Linked DNA regions of Homo sapiens: region 1 is linked to region 2. The links are contacts of gene promoters, found by promoter capture Hi-C in blood cells and fetal thymus (Javierre and others, 2016). All regions are on one chromosome and are shown on one strand. Each heading gives the region's core, a stretch centred on a gene start or on the middle of the fragment in contact. The rest is flanking DNA. Distances are from core to core; before and after follow the strand shown. Region 1 holds the start of CTNNBIP1 (catenin beta interacting protein 1). Region 2 holds the start of CENPS (centromere protein S).

Region 1 (6,564 bases), core at 3,830-6,329, 520 kb after region 2:
GTGAAGGTCAGGAGCAAAGTTATAGATGTTTAATAATAACAGACTCTACTGCTTGTTTACAACAACAAACTACCGGGCAATCTATATTCAATAAGATGAGGAAAGAATTGCTTGTCAGGAGTGGTCTTTTCAGTCTCATCTGAATACACTGATATCATTGCAACATCTACAGCTATGAAATGCCATTTATATGCCAGGGAGAGTGGGGGAAGACAGTTATTTAATTTTTCCCAGAGGGTACAGGCTATTTGCTTTTAGGGATGGTCATTTTTTTGGGTCCTTAATTAGACAATAACCAGCAGGAAAAAAAGGTGATAAACAGACTGCTATGGTTAAAGGCTAATCAGCTGAGTATATGGATCCAAATTAAGGTCTTATGTTGCTTTGTCTTTACTAGGTGATTAGAATGTTTCAGGCTTCACAGACAAAATACACTTAGAAGACATGTTGGTTGATCAAAACACTCAGCCAAAGAAATGAATAATTATTTCTTTATACTGTTCCCAAACACATAAAAGCTGGGTTCTGTGATGTCGGGAAGATCTACTCATCAGATGCTACAGAGACTAACACTTGGGGGGCATGCTGGCAGAGAGCCAGATGTTCACAGCTGCACATACCCCACTCATGACACAAAATATGTATATTCACCGATCTACAAAATGCTTTCATCATTGTGTTTAATAATTCCTTATCATCTCCAAAGTAAAATTAGATGACAAGTATTTGCCAAGGCACAACACAAGAGGGTGACACATGACTGTGACACTCTTTGTCTGCTGTGCACTTAGCCTCCTTTTAATTGTCTGTCTTCAGAGAAGTTAGAGCTATACCAAATGCAAACAGGATGGCAAACAAAGAGACCAGAGCAAAAGATCATTTTTTCACTTTCTAAATACTGGAAGTTATTAATTTACTCATTCTGACCTTGTACTTGCTCAACTTGTAAGCAGAAGACCTTCTTATAGAGTAAAATTTAAGTTGTTGCCATAAACCCCCAACTGCTTTAAAATAGCTCTTCTGCCTATAATCCTAGTGCTTTGAGAGGCCGAGGTGGGAGGAGGACTGATTGAGACCAGGAGTTAAGAGAGCTGCCTAGGCAACATGGTGAACCCCATCTCAAAAAAAAAAAAAAAAAAAAGTCGGGTGCGGTGGCACATGCCTGTAATCCCAGCAGTTCAGGAGGCCGAGGTGGGTGGATCACCTGAGGTCAAAAGTTTAAGACCAGCCTGGCTGGTAGAGACAGTGAAACCCTGTCTCTACTAAAAATACAAAAATTAGCCAGGCATGGTGGTGGGCGCCTGTAATCCCAGCTACTCGGGAGGCTGAGACAGAAGAATCGCTTGAATCCGGGAGGCAGAGGTTGCAGTGAGCTGAGATCATGCCACTGCACTCTAGCCTGGGTGACAGAGGAAGACTTTGTCTCAAAAAAAAAAAAAATTAACTGGGGGATGGTGGCACACGCCTGTAGCCCTAGTTGCTCCAGAGACTGAGGCAGGAGAATTGCTTGAATCTGCGAGTTTAAGGTACAGTGAGCTAGGACCATGCCACTGCACTCCAGCCTGGGTGACAGAGGGAGATCCCATCTCTAAATAAATAAAAAACAGTTATCCTTCCCTGCAGCCTGCTATGGTTGCACTGTTATTTCATACTTCGCCTGAAAATTTTACTCTTATAGTTATCCTTTGCTGTAGAGAACAGTTTTTTGGCTGGGCACGGTGGCTCACGCCTATAATCCCAGCACTTTGGGAGGCTGAGACCGGGTGGATCACTTGAGATCAGGAGTTTGACACCAGCCTGGCCAATATGGTGAAACCCTGTCTCTACTAAAAATACAAAAATTAGCTGGGCGTGGTGGCGCATGCCTGTAATCCCAGCTACTAGGAAGGCTGAGGCAGGAGAATCACTTGAACACAGGAGGCGGAGGCTGCAGTGAGCCAAGATCACACCACTGCAGTCTAGCCTGGGCGACAATGAGACTTCATCTCAAAAAAAAGAAAGAAAAAAAAGAGAAAAAAAATAGTGTTTTTTTTCTTTTTTTGCTCCAGAAAGCAACTATTTAAAGATACATAATAGGCCAGCATGGTGGCTCACAGCTGTAGTCCCAGCACTTTGGGAGGCTGAGGCCAACAGATCACTTGAGGTCAGGAGTTCGAGACCAGCCTGGCCAACATGGTGAAGCCCCGTCTCTACTAAAAATACAAAAAATTAGCTGGGCATGGTGGCGGGTGCCTGTAATCCCAGCTACTCAGGAGGCTGAGCAGGAGAATCACTTGAATCCAGGAGGTGGAGGTTTCAGTGAGCCAAGATTGCACCACTGTGCTCCAGCCTGGGCAACAGACTGAGACCCCATCTCAAAAAAAAGAAAAAAAAGATACCTAATATATGTTCTGGGACCACACGGAGGCCCTCTCCAGAGCTGAAAGGAGAAAATATCGAACCATAAATGCAGTGAGAGAAGAGTAAGGAGGAGAAGGCTGATAGCCCTGGGGGTCGGAGGCGGGGAGTAGGAGTGGCTGGCCGGCCGATGGAAGGGAAAGTCCTGGATGGAGTATTTACACATTCAGTTTGTTCCTGCAGTAATATTTGTGGATACAGGTATTGTGCTTGGTGGCATGGTCCTTGCCCTCCTGGAGTTTATAGCCATGCTGTGGGACTAGGGCTAGCATCCATTAAGAGGTCTCCCGGAAGTAGACCAAGTATTCAGGCAGGTGAAGTGGGGAGAAATCGGAAAAGAGCCATTGAGGCCAAGGGAACAGCGCAATCAGAAGACCTGAAGCACAAAAGAGCTCCCTGTGATCAAGGAACAGGCACAAGGCCCATATGTGGCTAGAGCCCAGTTGGCAAAAGTGGTTCAAGATCAGGCTGTAGCCAGATCCTGTAAGGCCTTGTTGCCACACTAAGGACTTTGAACTTCCTCGTGAAAATGAAGAGAAGTCGTTGAATAGCGCAGGTCTGACAAGATTTTAAGAAGTTTCCTTTAGTTGCTGTGTGGGCAGTGAATGGGGGCGTAAGGAGAGCCTAAAGGAGAGACTGCTTGAAGGGTTATTGCAGGAGTCAAGGTGATAGCTGGTGGCAGGTTAAACTGGGAAAGAGGGGTAGAGATGGTAGGAGGTGGAGAGATTAAGGACACCATTTAGAATTGGAAACAACATGGACTGGAAATGAAGAATAAAGGAAAGAGTGGTGTCAACGGTACAATTTAAGTGTCTGGTGTAAGCAACTGGGTAGAGAGTGGTGCCAGTTACTGAAGGTGGGGACACTGTAGGAGAAACCCACTTGGGGACCAATTTTTTTTTTTTTTTTTTTTTCAGACAGAGTTTCGCTCTTGTTGCCCAGGCTGGAGTGCAATGGCGCAATCTCGGCTCACTGCACCCTCGCCTCCCGGGTTCAAGCGATTTTCCTGCCTCAGTCTCCTGAGTAGCTGGGATTACAGGCATGCGCCACCACGCCCGGCTAATTTTTGTATTTTTAGTAGAGACGGGGTTTCTTCATGTTGGTCAGGCTGGTCTCCAACTCCCGACCTCAGGTGATCTGTCTGCCTTGGCCTCCCAAAGTGCTGAGATTACAGGCATGAGCCACTGCGCCCGGCCGGGGACCTATTAAGTATGAAAAAGTGTGAGCAGGCCGGGTGCGGTGTCTCAGGCCTGTAATCCTAGCATTTTGGGAGGCCGAGGCGGGCAGACCACTTGGGGTCAGAAGTTGGAGACCAGCCTGGCCAACATAGAGAAAACCCGTCTCTACTAAAAATACAAAAATTAGCCGGGGCGCATGCCGGTAATCCCATCTACTCAGGAGGCTGAGGCAGGAGAATCGCTTGAACCCGGGAAGCGGAGGTTGCGGTGAGCCAAGATCGCGCCACTGCACCTGAGCCTGGGCGACAGAGCGAGACTCCCTCTCAAAAACAAAAAAACCCCCCAAATGAGTAAAGAGTAATGTGGATATTATATTATAAACGAACAAACAAAAAAGGACTTCGTATTCTTTTTGCATAGGGAAGGGGAAGAAATGTGGAGTGGAAGAGGATGGTACAGAAAAGGTGTAAAAAGAAAGGCTGTGGGAGGAGTAGGGTAGGAGGGCTTCTGAACTGGGGTTAGTGTCACACTGTGTAACTGATAATTTAAACTGCTGAAAATGAGACCACACTTAAAGATACAGGTCCCTTTAAAAGGAAGGCGGATGTTAAAAGCAATTTGCATTTTACCTAAAATGGGCTGCTTCTCCCTGTACCCTCTCCAAATACAGCCAGACTTTCTGTAGAAACATTTTAATCATGGGCACCCTTCCCCCGAAAAATCCACTCACTACCAGTACACACGACCTTCTGAGTTTAATGGACCTACGGAGGCCCATCCCTGGGCTCTCTGGGCTAGGTTAATCCCAGGTTAGGCCCCAAGCTCAGAGGTAGCAACGTTCCCAGCTCAACGACGCAGGAAGACCACGCCTCTAAATGTTCTGCAACCTCGTCCATTTCAGAATTTTCCGGGGTTCTGGGTAAACTGGCCTCACCAAGGATTCTGCCCCGTCTTGTTGCTCCCGTTTTTAAACACAGACCGGTGTGTGGGAGAGGCCATTATTTTTCCGGAACACTGTGCTCCTGGAGCAGATAGGGACACGCAGAGTGGCTTTACCGCAGCGCCAGCTTCAGCCTTACCCGGCTCCTCCTCCAGGCCACCGCCTCCTCCTCGCGCCCAACCCGCCTTCCCTGCTCACCCCCGGCCCGCTCCTCCCCTTTGCTCTCAGCGCGGACTCGGCCACTCACTACCGGCGCCGTGTTCCACCCGCCCACCGCATGGCCCCGTCCCTATGTCGCTGGTCTCGCCCCCTTCCAGGAGGGCCCAATGAGCGTTCACATGCGCCACAAGGCCCCGCCCCGCACCGCGCAGCCCCGCCCACAGGCTGAGTTAACCAATTCGCGGCCCCGGGCCCCGCCCCGCCCGCAGGCCCCGCCCCGGCGCCCGGCCCCACGCGCCCGCCTCCCTCCGGGGCGTTGCCGCCGCCGCGCCTCAGCAGCCCGCGCGGAGCCAGATGCCGCCCCCTCCGCCGGTCCCTCCCCCGGCGGCCTGGCGCCTCCCTCCCTCCCCACCGCGGTGACTCTCGGAGCGGGAGGCGGAGGCTGAGGCGGCCGCTCCTGCTGCTGCTACTGCCGCCGCCGCAGCGGCTGCTCGGGCTGAGCACGCCCCGGAACAGGCCGCCGCGCGCTGCGCGCCGGACCCGCTGCCCCTGCCGGCCCGGCCGGGTCGGGCGGCCCAGGTAAGCGCCGAGGCCGGGCCGCGCCTGCACCGCCCGGGCCCGCGCCGCGCCGCGCCGGGGCTTGGGGGAGCGGCCAGCCCTTTGTCTGCCGGGGAGGGGCCGCGGAGAGCGCCCCCGACCCCGCTCGGACCCCTGACTGCCCCAGCGGCGCGGCGCCCTGGTCTGGGCCTGGCCGCCTCTCGCCGCAGACCACCTCCCGCCTCCCTGACTCTTCGCCCGGGGGTCGCCTCCACAGGTGTCCGCGCCGCCCACCTTGTTGCTCACCTCACCGCGTCCGGGTGCCTGTCATCGCCCGTCCGCCCTCCCGACCTCTGGGCCCCTGCCTCTTCCCTCACCTGCGCCCACTCTGAGACTCTTACTCTCCATATTTCCCCAAACTAAACGCTGGGCCGCCCTTCCTCCCTCTGTAGTTTGATTGAACTGTCGTCTCCCGATTCCACCCCTCCCCGGTGAGCCTTCCTGGAAGGTACCTGGTGGGGGCACATATCTCACCTGGATGGCGGGCGTGTATGCACGAACCTGCAAAATTAACCACCTGGAGCCCCAAACTGCACCTCTCACCTCCTTTTCATCACCCCACCCCAACCACCTTCCTTTTTTTGGAACCTGGTAACCGAGACACTCAGGTCTGGACACCCAGCCTCTGCTAGGCCCTCCATCCCTCCCTCTGCCTTGTGAGCTGAACTTGTCTGAGCAGTGCCTGTTGTCAGGTTAGCCCCTGGGAAGGCGGCGGGGGCCGTGTTGGCCGCAAATCAAGAGTTTTATGAATAATGAGACGTGTGGCTTGCACCACCTCCTGTCTGAGGATCTCAGTATGCTCCAGCTGTGAATTATTTTGTCTCCTGTCACTCACAGAACTGAGAGGAACATGTCTGGCCAACTGCTGGGTAAATTGAGGTACAGGGTGTGTGGGTAAGGGACCTGGAGGCAAGTCATGGTTTGTCTTGAAGTTCTGTTCGCAGGAGCCTTGGCTCTTAGCTCCCTGCTACAACCACTGGGCTCCAGTTCCTGGAGTGTGTCCCCAAGTGATAACTGATCTCTTGTGCCATTAAAATGTCCAGAGATACCAGCAGCTTCCTCAGATTTAAAGTAGGACTTTGGATCATAAATAAAGGTGCGGGCTGTTAAATGCCAATGTGTCATTCACGGTTTGCTGGGGGAGTTCGTGGTCCTCCCTTGTAAATACAAATCACCTCTATGGGATGGAGATTCATTCATTCAGTAGTGAGCATTTACTATGTGCCAGGCACCGTTCCAAGTACTGGGGCTTTAGTGGTGAAGACAGACACGGTTTCTGCCCTCCTCAGAGAT
Region 2 (7,055 bases), core at 1,608-4,107:
CTCCACGGGGCCCTCACTGCTCCTTGGCAAACCTTTTCAATACTGAAAAAGATCTCTCCACCCCTTGCAGAAAATTACCGAGAGGGGAGGATGAGCCTCAATTGCAAGACAAGCTAAGCAATGGTCTCAGCCACGTGTCGACAGAGTTCTGTTGAGCCCACCTGTGGGTACTCCGCCTCGGGGCCGAAGACACAGCTGAGCTGCACGTGATGACAGCTGAACCCACAAGGGCATAAAATCTACCAGCAAGTGTTCAACGCATAGGCAAGAGGAGGAGGAACTGCCAAAACCCAAGTCCAGGAACTCAGGATAGAGGCCAGACAGATGAGGAGGGCATCTACTTTCCTGAATTTCAGACCTCACAAGACTAGGTAAGCTGAGGCCTCTGGTAGGAGAAGCCAAAGAGGCATCAACCTGGGAGGCACGAAGATCACAGGTGTGATCACTGCACACTACAGCCTCGAACTCCTGGGCTCAAGTGAACCTCCTGCCTCAGCCTCTTGAGTAGCTGGGACTACAGGCCCACAACACCCTGCCCGGCTCAAGGTCATCTTTTTTAGGTATGGGTGGGGGTCAGGGTACAGGACATGAATTCTTCTGAATGCTCTTGGCTCCAGGAATTTTTCTCAGATCTTCCTCCTCCTCCTCCTCCCCTCCCCCTGGCTGGGCTGGGGTATCACTGCACTTAGAGGCTAAATCACTAAACTCCTCAAGGGCAGGACCCTGTCAATTTTGTTCACTGCTGCCTACCAAGTGCCTAGAACAGTTGGTTACATGAATGGGGGGAAATCGTCTACAAGCTAATCACAGCTGAGGGGCAAATTTCTCAGCCCATCTTTGCAGCTTCATCAGTAAGCATTTGTTGGTCTATTGAGAGCCAGGCTCTGTTCTAGGGACTAAGAACAGGCCGGGCACAGTGGTTCACACCTGTAATCTCAGCATTTTAGGAGGCCAAGGCGGGCAGATCACTTGAGGTCAGGAGTTCAAAACCAGCCTGGCCAACATGGTGAAACTGTCTCTACTAAACATACAAAATTAGCTGGGCGTGGTGGCAGGGGCCTGTAATCCCAGCTGCTCAGGAGGCTGAGGCAGGAGAATCTCCTGAACCTGGGAGGTGGAGGTTGCAGTGAGGCGAGATGGAGCCACTGCACTCCAGCCTGGACAACAAGAGTGAAACTACGTTTCAAAAAAAACAAAAACCAACCAAAAAAAAACAGGGTAGGCAGGACCAAAGATGACTAAATGCAATGCACCATCCTTAACTGAATCCTGGATGAAGGAAAAAAGACAGTTAAAAGAAACATCTTTAGGACAAGTGGGGGCACTTGACAATGCACATTCAATAGAGTTTTATCAAAATTAATTGTCCCACTTCCTGAGTGGGACAATTTATTGAAATGATGTAGTAGGAGAATGCCTTTTTTTTTTTTTTTTCTGAGATGGAGTCTCGCTCTGTCACCCAGGCTGGAGTGCAATGGTGCGATCTCGGCTCACTGCAACCTCCGCCTCCCGGGTTCAAGCGATTCCCCTGCCTCAACGTCCCGAGTAGCTGGGATTACAGGCACCTGCCACCACACTCGGCTAATTTTTGTACTTTTAGTTGAGAGGGGGTTTCCATGTTGGCCAGTCTGGTCTCGAACTCCTGACCTCAAGTGATCTGCCCACCTCGGCCTCCCAAAGTGCTGGAATTACAGGCGTGAGCCACCGCGCCCAGCCAATGCCTTGTTTTTGGGAGATGTGTACTAAAGAATTAAAATGTAAAGGCGAAGTGTCAAAATATCTGCAATTAATTCTCCAATCGCGGGGCTGGGAGGGAAGCATGGGAGCAAACAGAGCAAAATGCTAACTAGTGGTGAATCAAGGTGACGGGCATCTGGGCATTCTGTACCGTGTTCTTGCAACTTTTCTGAAGGTTTGAACTTCTCAAAAGACAAGGGGCAGGGTAGACAGCTGCTGCAGTGTAACTTTGTAGAGAGGAAACTCCCGCGTCTGGAGCTCATTCCCGCGTTTCTTCAGTCCGTCCTCTTTAAGGTCGCCACTCCGGGTCTTGCTTTTAAGCCTCTTCACGGCAACGTTCTCAGCCTCTGACGCCCCATATGCCCGGCGCTGATGAAAGGAACGAATGGGATGCCCGCAGCTACCCTGACAAGTGATTATTCTTATGACGATTTTGCAGAGAAGAAAATTGCGTCTGGGCCGAGTCGATACGATCACAAGTTGGCGGGGCAGAGATTCGAACCCACATCTAAGGACGAGCTCTGGGCCTGACTGGTCCGCACCGCGTCCCTGCATCAGTAACGAGGGGTCGACGCCTCCAGGGCCAGCGTTCCAGAGCTCCGGCCCGAACCGCCCACCGCGTACGGGCGTCACCTGGAATGTCTAATGCCGACGTTGTACCCTCACGAAAACCCCATCTGAGAAGGGGAAACCGAGGATTCATCGCAAGGCCAGAAGGTGGCCTCTCGCCGCCGGACCCCGGCGCCCGCACGCTCCCCTAGAACCGCTTCCTCCCCAGCCAGCGCAGGCCAGGGTCCAGCCGCGTTGCCGCGGAAACCGCCTCCCAGCACCACCCGCGGCAGTTAAGCCAACGCATGCGCAGCCGCGGGGGGCGCCCGGGGGCGGGGTGCCGATGAGAAGCCGCCGGGGGCTGCCGGGTACTTTTCTGTCCAGAAACTCGACGCCGTCCTGCCCCAGCCCAGCCCGACCCCCGTTTTCCTGTACCTGTTGGTAAGAGAATCGCTGCTGCTCCTCGGTCTCCGCCTCCTCCTCCATCACTGCGGGCCGACCCTGGGCAAACGCAGGAGGGCCGAGAAGGGGCGGTGGTGCGCGGCCAGGTCGGATTTTCCCGCCGCGGCGCGAGCGACGGGCCGCGCGGGCGGACAAAGTACGCAGCTCCGCCCTGCCTCGCGCGCCCCCTGGCGGCGCTCCGTTGAGGGGATTCCGCCGTCGGCCTCCAGCCAGCCCCCTGCTCAGCTTGCTCTGCGGAGGTGGCCGGGCGACGCGGGGACATGACCACCGAGGTCACTGCTGCACCCCAGAGCCTGATTCAGCGCCTGGCACAACGCTGAGCACCACTCTCCGCGAAACACGTGTGCGCATAGGTGCAAAGCGTGTTCCAGTCGGGTGTAGAGGATGCGTAGCCCACGATTTACAGATCATGTAACGCAGTACACATTATCAGGAGCTCCATGCACCTGTACCTCAGGTGTATCTTGCAAAATCGACCATCAACTTTATCATTCTATCACCAACAATAGCGTCACAAAGACTACAATGAGTGAACGACCCGTGACCTCATTCAGCGAGTGGAACAGGAACTGCGTTGTTGCCATTGGCAGGAGTATAGTTCTGACACAAGTGTTACTGTTTTTCCTTTATGTTAACGATGAAGTGAGACCATCAAACCCAATTTTGGTTTGTTTTTATTGTAGTTTTTTGAGAGGCAGGGTCTCACTCTGCCGCCCAGGCTGGAGTGCAGTGGCACCACCAAGACTCACTGTAACCTCCACCTCCTGGGCTCAGGTGATCCTCCCACTTCAGCCTCCCAAGTAGCTGGGACCACAAGCCTGCATCAGCGCACCTGGCTAATTTTTATTTTTTGTAGAGACCAGGTCTCACTATGTTGCCCAGGCTGGTATCAAACTCCTGGCTTCAAACAATCATCCCACCTCAGCCTCCCAAAGTGCTGGAATTACAGGTGTGAGCCACCATGCCCTGCCTGTATTTCTAGGTTTTTGTTTTATTATTTTTTATTGCCTATATTTCTGTATTCTGCATTTGTCACAAGCAGGTGCTACTTTCAGAACGAAGGAAAGCACATAAAGCCACTCCTTGTCTTCCTTTCCCAGGGACGTCCCTCAAGTTCCCTAAGCTTGCCAGGGGCTGAAACCCAGATCAAAGCTTTTTGGAGGAATCAGCCTTCTGAGGACTTTCCTCTGCATCTGCTCAGTGGGTGGCATCTGGAAATGACAGGCACTTCTCGCCTCTGTCCACTGCTCTCTGTGGGCATCCCAGTCTACCTGGACAGTCCTCCTGCCCAAGCAGGGCAAGCCTCTGACGGATTCCCCTAATGGGCAGCATGGGGCTGGGCAGGGCAGGCCATCCAGAGTGAGACCAAGCCTGCAGCAGGAGAGAAGGCCGGTCGCTGGTTGGTGAGCAGCCCCATTTAGAGCACACTGTGGCTGCAAAGCCCAGCTCCCTCCCTTGAGCCTGGTGACCCCAAGCAAGTCACAGGACGTGGCCAAGCTTCATGTCCCTTATTTATCAACTGGGGACAGTAGTTCCAACTTCACAGGGCAGGTGTCAGGTTTTAAACAATTGCCTCACATAAGAGCTAAAGAAATTGTAACAATTCGTCCCAGGAAGTTCCTGTGCTTTGTACCTGTGTGTTCCCTCATTTTAAAGCAGTTGCTTCCCAGGATTAAAGAACAGTATTCCAGTGACATGTGTGCAATACAGAGGCACTTAAGAGCCTCAGAGGCTAGGAGCAGTGGCTCATACCTGTAATTCCTGCACTTTGGGAGGCCGAGGCAGGTAGATCACTTGAGGTGAGGAGTTCAAGACCAGCCTGGCCAACATGATGAAACCCTGTCTCTACCAAAAAATACAAAAATTAGCCAGACATGGTGGCACATGCTTGTAATCCTAGCACTTGGGAGGCTAAGGCAGGAGGATTGCTTGAACCCGGGAGGTGAAGGTTGCAGTGAGCTGAGATCGCACCATAGCACTCCAGCCTGGGCAACAGAGCGAGACTCTGTCTCAAAAAAAAAGGTCTGAGAAATAGGTCGAGGGTTGAGGTATTCATTACAGAAAATGGAACTGGGTGTGGTGGTTCAAGCCTGTAATCCCAACACTTAGGGAGACCAAGGCAGGAGGATCACTTGAGCCCAGTTCAAGGCTATGGTGAGCCGTGATTGCCCCACTGTTTTCCAGCCAGGGTGACAGAGGGAGACACTGTCTCTAAAAAAAATAATGAAAAAAGGATATATTAATATTTGGTTGAAACTTACTTGATGAAGAAGTAGCCCTATAATCTGGCCACTAGATGTCAGTGTTGCACTACAGCGTGAAGCAAGGCCAGGGATGCCCGCTGGCAATGTTGCCATGACACTGAGCACTTTGCACTTGTCCTCGCTCTAGGCACTCATTTAATATCTCATCTGCCCTCAAAAGTAGGTGCTGTTAGCCCCATTTTACATGAGGAAACAGGTGAAAGAACTCTGCCCAAGGCTAAACTACTGGGAAGTGATAGAGACCAGATTTGATTATTAGGCTGGTTTCCGAGTTTCCGGTTTATCCACTGCCCTCACCATAAATAAGACAAAGACCTTGGTGGGTTTCTTTAATCCTTTTCATCTGCATTAAGGAGGGTTCCATAAATATTTAGTTCAGCCGGGCGTGGTGGCTCACGCCTATAATCCCAGCACTTTGGGAGGCCGAGGCAGGCGGATCACCTGAGGTCAGGAGTTCGAGACCAGCCTCAACATGGAGAAACCCTGTCTCTACTAAAAATACAAAATTAGCCAGGCGTAGTGGTGCATGCCTGTAATCCCAGCTACTCGGGAGGCTGAGGCAGGAGAATCGCTTGAACCTGGGAGGCGGAGGTTTTGCGGTGAGCTGAGATCGTGCATTGCACTCCAGCCTGGGCAAACAAGAGCGAAACTTGAAGGGGTGGGTTGCCCCTCCACACCTGTGGGTGTTTCTCGTTAGGTGGAACGAGAGACTTGGAAAAGAAAAAGACACAGAGACAAAGTATAGAGAAAGAAATAAGGGGGCCCAGGGGACCAGCGTTCAGCATATGGAGGATCCCGCCGGCCTGAATTCCCTTAGTATTTATTGATCATTCTTGGGTGTTTCTCGGAGAGGGGGATGTGGCAGGATCATAGGATAATAGTGGAGAGAAGGTCAGCAGATAAACACTTGAACAAAGGTCTCTGCACCATAGATAAGGTAAAGAATTAAGTGCTGTGCTTTAGATATGTGTACACATAAACATCTCAATGCCTTGAAGAGCAGTATTGCTGCCCGCCTGTCCCACCTCCAGCCCTAAGGCGGTTTTCCCCTATCTCAGTAGATGGAACATACAATCGGGTTTTATACTGAGACATTCCATTGCCCAGGGACGGGCAGGAGACAGATGCCTTCCTCTCGTCTCAACTGCAAGAGGCGTTCCTTCCTCTTTTACTAATCCTCCTCAGCACAGACCCTTTACGGGTGTCGGGCTGGGGGACGGTCAGGTCTTTCCCTCCCACGAGGCCATATTTCAGACTATCACATGGGGAGAAACCTTGGACAATACCTGGCTTTCCTAGGCAGAGGTCCCTGCGGCCTTCCGCAGTGTTTCTGTCCCTGGGTACTTGAGATTAGTGAGAGGTGACAGCGTGCTGGCAGTCCTAAAGCCCTCGCTCGCTCTCGGCACCTCCTCTGCCTGGGCTCCTACTTTGGTGGCACTTGAGGAGCCCTTCAGCCCACCGCTGCACTGTGGGAGCCCCTTTCTGGGCTGGCCAAGGCCAGAGCCGGCTCCCTCAGCTTGCAGGGAGGTGTGGAGGGAGAGGCGCAAGCGGGAACCAGGGCTGCGCGCGGCGCTTGCGGGCCAGCTGGAGTTCCGGGTGGGCGTGGGCTTGGCGGGCCCCGCACTCGGAGCAGCCGGCTGGCCCTGCCCGCCCAGGGCAATGAGGGGCTTAGCACCCAGGCCAGCGGCTGCGGAGGGTGTACTGGGTCCCCCAGCAGTGCCAGCCCACCGGCGCTGCACTCGATTTCTCACTGGGCCTTAGCTGCCTTCCTGTGGGGCAGGGCTCGGGACCTGCAGCCCGCCATGCCTGAGCCTCCCACCCACTCCGTGGGCTCCTGTGTGGCCCGAGCCTCCCCGATGAGCGTGGCCCCCTGCTCCACGGCGCCCAGTCCCATCGACCACCCAAGGGCTGGGGAGTGTGGGCGCATGGCGCAGGACTGGCAGGCAGCTCCACCTGCAGCCTGGTGCAGGATCCACTGGGTGAAGCCAGCTGGGCTCCTGAGTCTGGTGGGGAGGAGGAGAACCTTTATGTCTAGCTCAGGGA

What was found. The method cuts DNA at HindIII sites, captures the fragments that hold promoters and counts their contacts. A CHiCAGO score of 5 or more calls a contact.
Region 1: a contact is called between the fragment with the promoter of CTNNBIP1 here and the fragment with the promoter of CENPS in region 2, in 2 of 17 cell types (fetal thymus and naive CD8 T cells). The highest score is 5.9, in fetal thymus.

Annotation. Positions count from the first base shown.
Region 1 is chr1:9,908,784-9,915,347 of GRCh38, reverse strand. CTNNBIP1 (catenin beta interacting protein 1) reads left to right here and starts at 5,079. Exons shown (of 6, transcript NM_020248.3): 1 at 5,079-5,253. RefSeq lists enhancers at 3,138-3,810, 3,811-4,484 and silencers at 4,632-5,231, 5,242-5,301, 5,472-5,531. The HindIII fragment of the contact is 9,783 bases long and covers 1-6,564 here.
Region 2 is chr1:10,426,235-10,433,289 of GRCh38, reverse strand. It overlaps CENPS (centromere protein S), which reads right to left and starts at 2,857. Exons shown (of 5, transcript NM_199294.3): 1 at 2,722-2,857. The coding sequence starts at 2,772. CENPS-CORT (CENPS-CORT readthrough) reads right to left here and starts at 2,857. Exons shown (of 4, transcript NM_199006.3): 1 at 2,722-2,857. The coding sequence starts at 2,772. RefSeq lists enhancers at 1-134, 2,210-2,259, 6,173-6,778, 6,779-7,055 and silencers at 2,510-2,759, 4,924-5,218. The HindIII fragment of the contact is 4,555 bases long and covers 1-3,873 here.